2 separate regions of the Homo sapiens genome follow, and region 2 is linked to region 1. The links are contacts of gene promoters, found by promoter capture Hi-C in blood cells and fetal thymus (Javierre and others, 2016). All regions are on one chromosome and are shown on one strand. The core of a region is centred on a gene start or on the middle of the fragment in contact, and the rest is flanking DNA. Distances in the headings are between cores, read along the strand shown.

Region 1 (4,202 bases), core at 1,138-3,637:
CTTTTATCAATTTACTTACTATGGTTAAGTATCTTTCCATAGAGATCTTCGTCTTCTGGACTACCTTCTTATAACTTCCAAAAGAGAAATGATCAAATTGGGTCATGTGAACACTCATAAGGTTCTTGATATGATTTGACAAATAACTTTCCAAAATCTTTGTCCCAATTTATATCCCTCCCAGGGTATAAGTGTCCACTTCACTCTTCTGTCACCAATCGAGTTTATTCACATTTTAAACAGATTGGGTAATTAGATGCCAGACAACCTCTTTTTTGTCTCTGTTTATTATTAATGACTTTGAATATTGATTGGTAAAATGTGTAGTAGGCATTTAAATTTCATATTTTGTGAACTGACCATTGTATATACTTTCCCCATTGATCTATTTAAGGTGTTTGTGTCTTTTTTCTATTCTCTTTACCCTCACACTTTACCGTATAAATACTTCTGTCCCCAGTATGCATTTGTATATGTGAGTCTCTGCTACTAGACTGTGGTTCCCCATGGGCAGTGGCCCCATTTTATTTTATCTGTGAACAATGCCTAACACATAGTAGGAAAAAGGCATACTGTAGTTTGTAGAATTATTCTTAGGATTAAATGAGATAACGTAAGCAAAGCATCTAACACACTGTCACAAAGCAGATGCTCAATACACACATTACTTTAGGCAATCAAAAGTTTGGCTATTTCATTTTGTTGTTTAGGAAAACCAAGGTTAAAGATTAAGTATCTTTCAAAGATCAGGAACTATAGTTGTAAACTGCAGATTTAAGATGCGAACCCTGATTCTCAAATCTTTCATCACAAATCACATGTGGCTGGAATACTCGAAAAATTATAATTCTTGCAATTTTTTTTTTTTCTTTTTTGAGACGGAGCCTTGCTCTGTCACCCAGGCTGGAGTGTGGTGGCTCGATCTTGGCTCACTGTGACCTCTGCCTCCTGGGTTCATTCAATGGTCCTGATTGTCCTGCCTCAGCCTCCCAAGTAGCTGGGATTACAGGCGCCCGCCACCACACCCAGCTAATTTTTGTATTTTTAGTAGAGACGGAGTTTCACCATGTTGGCCAGATTGGTCTCGAACTCCTGACTTCAGGTGATCCGCCTGCCTCGGCCTCCCAAAGTGCTGGGGTTACAGGCGTGAGCCACTGCGCCCGGCCAATTCTTGCGATTTTTGAAAGATCAGTATGAACTGTGAGCTGTTTAACCTTTGAGGAACTGCTTTTTCCCTGTATCTGTCTGTATCTGATCCCACATGTATGTCTCTTCCCTTGTTTTTATTTTTTATTTTTTTAGAGACACGGTCTGGTTCTGTTGCTCAGGCTGGAATGCAGTGTTGCCATCAGAGCTCACTGCAGCCTTGACCTCCTGGGCTTAAGTGATCCTCCCACTTCAGACTCCCAGCCAGTAGCTGGGACTACAGGCACGCGCCAACACGCCTGGCTAATTTTTTCATTTTCATTTTTAGTAGAGACAGGGTCTTGCTATGTTGCCCAGGCCTGTCTGGAACTCTTGACTTCAAGCGATCCTCCCGCCTCGGCCTCCCAAAGTGCTGGGATGACAGGCGTGAGCCACCGCGCCGGGTCTCATTTAAATTTATAGGAAACTTGTGGTAAAAATAGCAAAACTCAACAAGCAAATATACATCAAGTGAGTGACATTTTATTTCTACATCAGATAAGTCAGCTTTTGCTTTTAGACAGGGAGACAGCTGTTCTACCAGCTGCTTTAAAATAAAAATGCAGAACTAACGCAGCGAAGGGAAGGAAAGTGTGGCTGGGAATGTCCAGTCAGCTGGAGGGGCTTGGAGCTCGGCGTTGGCTGGGAGCATTTTTATTGCTGCCGGGAGGAGGAAGGGGAAGCGGGGGAAGCGGGGGAGGCGGGGGGGCAGCGTGTTGTAAAATCAGTTTGAAGTAAACAAAAAGTTATGTTTTCCGAGGGGCCAGCAGCGCGGAGAGCAGGCCTAGCCCGCTGCCGGGAAGGCGGGTCTGTCCAGTAGAGACCGGAACGCCGCGCAGGCTCAGCAAAGGGCTAAGGCTGGAGCCGGGGAAGCTGCCTCTAGGTTAGCGAAGGGTAAAGGAAGTCAGACACTGACGCGAGTGGCCTCCCGATCCCGCAGTCGAGTGGAGAACCGAGTCCCGACCTAAGGTCGAATCATCAGGCGTCCCCGTCACCCAACAACCCACTCAGGCACTTCCGGTAAGAAATCTAGTGCCCTTGGCTCGGAACCTGCGTCGTAGTGCGCAAGCGCCCCGGGCCTGGAGACGGCCGCGGATGCCGAGGGAGGGGGCGTGTGAGCCGAAGAGGAAAGCGTCCTCTGCGCCTGCGCTCTCTGCGCTGCCCGGTGGGGCGGGGAAAGAAGCCCTGAGCCGGGATCTGGCACTCCCAGGACTCCCGGCCGGGGTAGCTCTTCACTCCTCAGCGCGACGTCGTGTCGAGTTCCCAAAAAGCTCCGCAGGGGCTGTAGGGAGGTAAGAGCCCCCCGTGACCGGTCGTCTCGGCCTCCCCTCAGCCCTGCTGTTCCCACAGGGGGGCGGGGTGACCGCTGGACCCGCCGACCTGGGCGCTGGGTCTGGCCCTCTTCCTCTGGGGACAGAGCCTGGGCCCCGACCGATTCCTTTTCCGAGCCCCCGGAGCTGGCCGGGGAACCCTGGCCCTCCAATCTGATGTCCCCTCCTGGAGCCTGAAGGGCCAGACCGGACTGGACCGGGAGGGCAATCACGGCGGCTGTTTGCCCGGTTCCCCGCTCCCGGGCCGCCGGAGTGTTCGGCGCTCCTGGGGGAGAGACCCCAGCGGACGGAGGGAGAAGCGCCCTGGCGCCGCCGTCCCGCCTGGGGAGGGGCTGCGACTGCGGAGGGGACTGTGGTTCTTCAGGAGTGGCAGAGGCTCGGTCCCCGCAGAGGAGTCTCATCGCCGCCGGTGCTCTCGCACTGTCCATTCCCGCACCCATGCATTTTCTCTTGGTTAGAGACCAGAAGGATGCAGTGGCCGTCTTTCCCGCTGCCTTTCCTTTGGTACTTTTGAGAACTCCAAAAGAGGACCTTATTTTTAACTCTTATTTGTACTATCGTGATTGCAAATATTATGTTCCAGACTAAGGATGTTCTTTCTTATTAGTTTGACTTGTATGAAAACCAGTCCATACATTTGATATTAAGTTAATCTTTTCAATTCAAAAAATAGGCACTTTGTTGATTCAATCAGATTCCTCCATTTATTCACTTGAGCTTGTCGTCTCTTGAGTTGGCGGGAGTTTAATGGTTTAATCCAGTAGAACTATATATAATTTTTCGCCTAATTTCTTCCTTTTTTTCCTCTCCTGGATATTAAACCGCATGCTTAGTGGCAAAAATTGAAAAAATAGAATAAAGAATAAGGAAAAATGATCAATCATAATTCCACCATGTAATAGTAATCAATTACTTATAATATTTTGACTTTTTTCCTTTGAGTCTTTTTTTCCCCTGTGCATTTTCTTGAGATGAGATTTTATATCGTTGGATTGTCTGCTTTCCTTGATTTAAATTACGTTGTAAGCATTTCCCCATGTTTTTAAAAAGCTTCATAAAAATGACTTCTTGATTATACATGAGCAAAGTATCTTTTGAAACAGTTATATTACAGATAAAGCCAAATCCGCATTAATTATCCTCAATCATAATGTTACATGATAGAATAGTGCTACAGTTCATTTAACATTATGATTGGGGATAATTACGCTTAAAAATTATTGAGGACCAATAGAGTTTTTGGTTCCTAATGCTGCAGTATATTTACCATTTTGGAAATTAAAACTCAGAAAATTGAAAATGTTTTATTCATTTAAAAATCACAGACTCATGTATTAAATAATTTTTTAGTGAAAAGTAACCATTTTCTAAAACAAAACTTAGAAGAGGAGCGTGGCATTGTTTCAAATTTTTGCGAATCACTTTAATGTCTGGCATTATAGAAGACAGCTGGATTTTCATGTTTGCTTCTGTTCAGTCTGTTGTGCTATCTGGTTTAGGTTGAAGCATATGAAGAAAACACCAGCCTTGAACAGATACGTAGCAGGAAAAGCGAGGATCTTACAAGCCTGCTGAAAGGCTCCTGGGGACATCCAGGGGTCCTGAGACCACAGTTTGAGAAAGCTGATTTAACCATTTTTGGATTGGTGGGCTGTTAGGTTGTTTAAAATTTTACACTGTTACAAC
Region 2 (4,202 bases), core at 1,076-3,575, 1.2 Mb before region 1:
TCACTGCAACCTCTGCCTCCCGGGTTCAAACGATTCTCCTGCCTCAGCCTCCCGAGTAGCTGGGATTACAGGCACCTGCCACAACGCCCAGCTAATTTTTGGATTTTTGGTAGAGACGGGGTTTCACCATGTTAGCCAGGCTAGTCTCGAACTTCTGACTTTGCGATCTGCCCACCTTAGCCTCCCAAAGTGCTGGGATTACAGGCGTGAGCCACCGCACCCGGACTATTTTTTTAAATAATAATTTTTTTCTTTTTCTTGTCCTCTACTCTGAAGAGAACTTGTAAACAAATTCTTTTAATACTCATTCTCTGTATTCACAATTATACATAATGGGATCATGTCAGTAATGCTTTATCAGAAAAACTAGCTTTTTGCAGTTGCTTTTTAGCAAAAAAGAAGAGAAAGTTTTCTACAATGTGCTATTGTTTGCTTAGCTGGTAATTCAAACCTTTTTTCTTTTTTCTTTTTTGAGGTGGAGTCTCTGTCCCCCAGGCTGGAGTGCGGTGGCATGATCTCAGATCACTGCAACCTTCGCCTCCCGGGTTCAAGCAATTCTCCTGCCTCAGCCTCCCAAGTAGCTGGGATTACAGGCACGTGCCACCACACCCGACTAATTTTGTATTTTTTATAGAGACGGGGTTTCACCATGTTGTCCAGGCTGGTCTTGAACTCCTGACCTCAAGTGATCTGCCCACCTCAGCCTCCCAAAGTGCTGGGATTACAGGCGTCAGCCACCATGCCCAGCCCCGTAATTCAGATTTGAAATGGGTTTTCTCTCTTTTTTGCCTTTCAGAACGTGTCTCTGACTTGCATTTGAGATTTGACACAAACTCAGTTACAAACTTTGAAAATTTGTGGTTTCAAATAATGAACTGTACAAAATGTTAAAAACCAGCTGGGCTCAGTGGCTCACGACTGTAATCCCAGCACTTTGAGAGGCCAAGGCGGTCGGATCACCTGAGGCCAGAAGTTCGAGACCAGCTTGGCCAACATGAAGAAACCCCGTCTCTAATAAAAATACAAAAATTAGTCGGGCTTGGTGGTGTGTGCCTGTAATCCCAGCTACTTGGGAGGCTGAGGCAGGAGAATCGCTTGAACCCGGGAGGCAGAGGCTGCAGTAAGCTGACATCGTGCCACTGTGCTCCAGCCTGGGCCACAGAGTGAGACTCTGTCTCAAAAAAAAAATTTTTTTTGGCTGTTTATTCAAATATCAGGACAATACTGAACCAAGTGTTGAAGCTTAGAGTTTAAGATGGACAATACTGAACTAAGTTTGAAGCTTAGCTAGTTCAGTACTGTTCTGTCATCTGAATAAACAGCTGTTTTTACTGAACCTAACAATACAAGGCTAATCCAAACGGTTTTGTATATACTTTAGAAATGTGAATAAATGTAAAAGAACTAATTTCCATTGTGCTTTACTATGGTGCACAACATCTGTGACTTGAATACTAATCGGAAAAAGAATGCCAATAATTATTATAAAGTCTACTAATTTTAAGAATGTGTTTCATCATAGTTTAGTAAGAATAGCAGAGATTGATATGACTGTTTTTGTATATGCATTCTGGGAACTCCCATAATTGAATACAACTTCAAAAGGGCTAAAGCCCAGTGACCTCAAAACGAGGTTCACAGAACAGTACATAATGATGAAACCTGAAGCAATAAAACACCAATGAACTGAAATGTAAACATTCATGCTGTTAGGACATGGCATTTTCATTTTTCATTTTGTTTTGGACTGTTACTGGGCTTTCCTCAGACACCTTCCTTTCATATATTAAACTCTGTCTTTCCAGAAAAGCTTCTGGAATTGTTTTTGTTTTTTGTTTTGGTCTCAAGGGCATTAGGGGAGAACCTAACAGGCTGGGGGCGAGCCCCACATAGTTCAGCACACCGTTCCCCGCGGCAACACGCTACTTCTGAACGCAGGAGCGACTCTCCGTCCGGGCTCCCTCCAGGAGAATGGAGGCAAATGTACATTCGAGGGTCTCAATACCTGGAATTCGAAACGTCTCAGTTCCTCCGCCTTAGTTCCTCTTTTCCCGGGTTCGGAGGCCACCTGTGCAGCAGGGCACACCTGCCACTCTCATCGCCCTCGGAGCCGGCAACCAGCCGACAGCCGGCTCCAGCCCCGGGGAACTGGAGGCTGCGCGGAAGGAAGGAGAGTCGGGAGCGCGGCCGCTCGCGGGCTGGCTCAGGGGACGCCGAGAGGAGGCGCCGGCGCGCGCGGGCGGGGTGCGCGCGCCGCCGCCGCCGCGTCACCAGCGTGCGGCACGTGCCCATGTTTACGTCCCTCGTGGAGCCGCCGACGTCAGCAGTCGAATGGCAACATTGTGGCGATGCTGAGGCGCAGAGTTTAGGAGACGGGTTCATCAGTCAGGCCGGCTCCGGGCTTTCTGCAGCAGCACCAGGGGCGGGGGCGGGGATCTTGACCTGGGCGAGCGACCGGGACGCATACAGCGCCGGCCTGACCCCGCGGGACCCGCGCCTCACCACCGGAGCGCCGCAGACGCAGCTCCACGGCCTCGCGCGGGGGGCGGCGGGCGGCCGCGAGGCGCTGCGGCAGCGCGGAGCTTGTAAACAGATCCGGCCGCAGGTGACCATGTGAACTACCTGCTCCCGGGACGCTTATTGTCCTTCTCTCGATCCGCGCCACAAAGGAGCTCGGCGGTCGGGGCGCGGAGGGACAGGCGAACGAGCCGGGAGAGCCGGCCGGCGCACTAAGATGGCTGAAGGCGCCCGGCGAGGGTGAGCGGGGGGCGCGGCGCAGCCAGCGGGGAGTCCTCGGGCGGGCCGGGCCGGCGGCCCTTCCCCGCGGCGAGAAGCCGGAGCCACCATGTCGTTCGCGCTGGAGGAGACGCTCGAGTCGGACTGGGTGGCTGTGCGGCCCCATGTGTTCGACGAGCGCGAGAAACACAAATTCGTCTTTATTGTGGCCTGGAACGAGATTGAGGGCAAGTTTGCCATAACCTGCCACAACCGGACGGCCCAGAGGCAGAGGAGCGGCTCCCGGGAGCAAGCGGGGGCGCGAGGGGGCGCCGAGGCCGGCGGAGCTGCGTCCGACGGGAGCCGCGGGCCCGGCAGCCCGGCGGGCAGGGGTCGGCCCGAGGCCACTGCCTCTGCAACTCTGGTTAGGAGCCCCGGGCCCCGGCGGAGCTCGGCCTGGGCGGAGGGCGGCTCTCCTCGGAGCACTCGCAGCCTTCTGGGGGACCCGCGGCTGCGGAGTCCTGGCAGCAAAGGGGCGGAGAGTCGTCTTAGGAGCCCAGTGCGGGCCAAACCCATCCCGGGTCAGAAAACATCTGAAGCCGACGATGCGGCGGGGGCAGCCGCTGCAGCAGCCCGGCCGGCGCCCAGAGAGGCCCAGGTGTCCTCTGTACGGATAGTGAGCGCCTCTGGGACGGTCTCCGAGGAGATAGAGGTGCTGGAAATGGTGAAGGAGGACGAGGCACCTCTGGCGCTCTCGGACGCGGAGCAGCCGCCGCCCGCCACCGAGCTGGAGTCTCCGGCCGAAGAGTGCAGCTGGGCCGGACTGTTTTCTTTCCAGGACCTGCGCGCCGTGCACCAGCAGCTGTGCTCGGTGAACTCGCAGTTGGAGCCGTGCCTGCCGGTGTTCCCCGAGGAACCTTCGGGCATGTGGACTGTGCTGTTTGGGGGCGCCCCCGAGATGACCGAGCAGGAAATCGACACTCTGTGTTACCAGCTCCAGGTCTACCTGGGCCACGGCCTGGACACCTGCGGCTGGAAGATCCTCTCCCAGGTGCTCTTCACCGAGACCGATGATCCCGAGGAGTATTACGAAAGCCTCAGCGAGCTGCGGCAGAAGGGCTACGAAGAAGTGCTTCAGCGGGCCAGGAAGCGCATCCAGGAGGTGAGTGAGTGAGCTCCTAGTCTGGGCTCTACTGGTCGCTTTTGGTTTACTGGCCAAACCAAAGGCTGGAGCCTCGGTGTCGGGTGTGCGCAGTAGGACGGTTGTTTTTCTGGACAAGCGGAAACCAAGAGGGGTTCCTGATCTACCTTGCCCTTCATCCCTCTCGGTGGCTGCTTAATTGACTCTCTGAAGGACCTTCGTCTTTATTTCCTCCCCCATTTATCAAAAGTAGTAAGTGCGCTCTGTGTACTACTCAGTACTGGTAATGCGCAATTAAAGCCACTAAGAAAAGTGTTCTGTAAGCATGGGCTACCTGAGCATTTTT

Evidence for each region. The method cuts DNA at HindIII sites, captures the fragments that hold promoters and counts their contacts. A CHiCAGO score of 5 or more calls a contact.
Region 2: the fragment with the promoter of JMY here is called in contact with the fragment with the promoter of ZFYVE16 in region 1 in 1 of 17 cell types (fetal thymus); the score reaches 5.8 in fetal thymus.

Annotation. Positions count from the first base shown.
Region 1 is chr5:80,405,677-80,409,878 of GRCh38, forward strand. ZFYVE16 (zinc finger FYVE-type containing 16) reads left to right here and starts at 2,388. Exons shown (of 19, transcript NM_001284236.3): 1 at 2,388-2,477. RefSeq lists an enhancer at 2,350-3,148 and a silencer at 2,869-2,988. The HindIII fragment of the contact is 4,043 bases long and covers 1-3,564 here.
Region 2 is chr5:79,233,806-79,238,007 of GRCh38, forward strand. It overlaps JMY (junction mediating and regulatory protein, p53 cofactor), which reads left to right and starts at 2,326. Exons shown (of 11, transcript NM_152405.5): 1 at 2,326-3,877. The coding sequence starts at 2,846. It overlaps LOC124901011 (a long non-coding RNA gene), which reads right to left and starts at 2,218. Exons shown (of 2, transcript XR_007058836.1): 1 at 2,006-2,218. RefSeq lists silencers at 2,228-2,277, 2,318-2,367, 2,398-2,837, 3,008-3,277, 3,561-3,855 and enhancers at 2,780-3,416, 3,468-3,887. The HindIII fragment of the contact is 5,598 bases long and covers 1,809-4,202 here.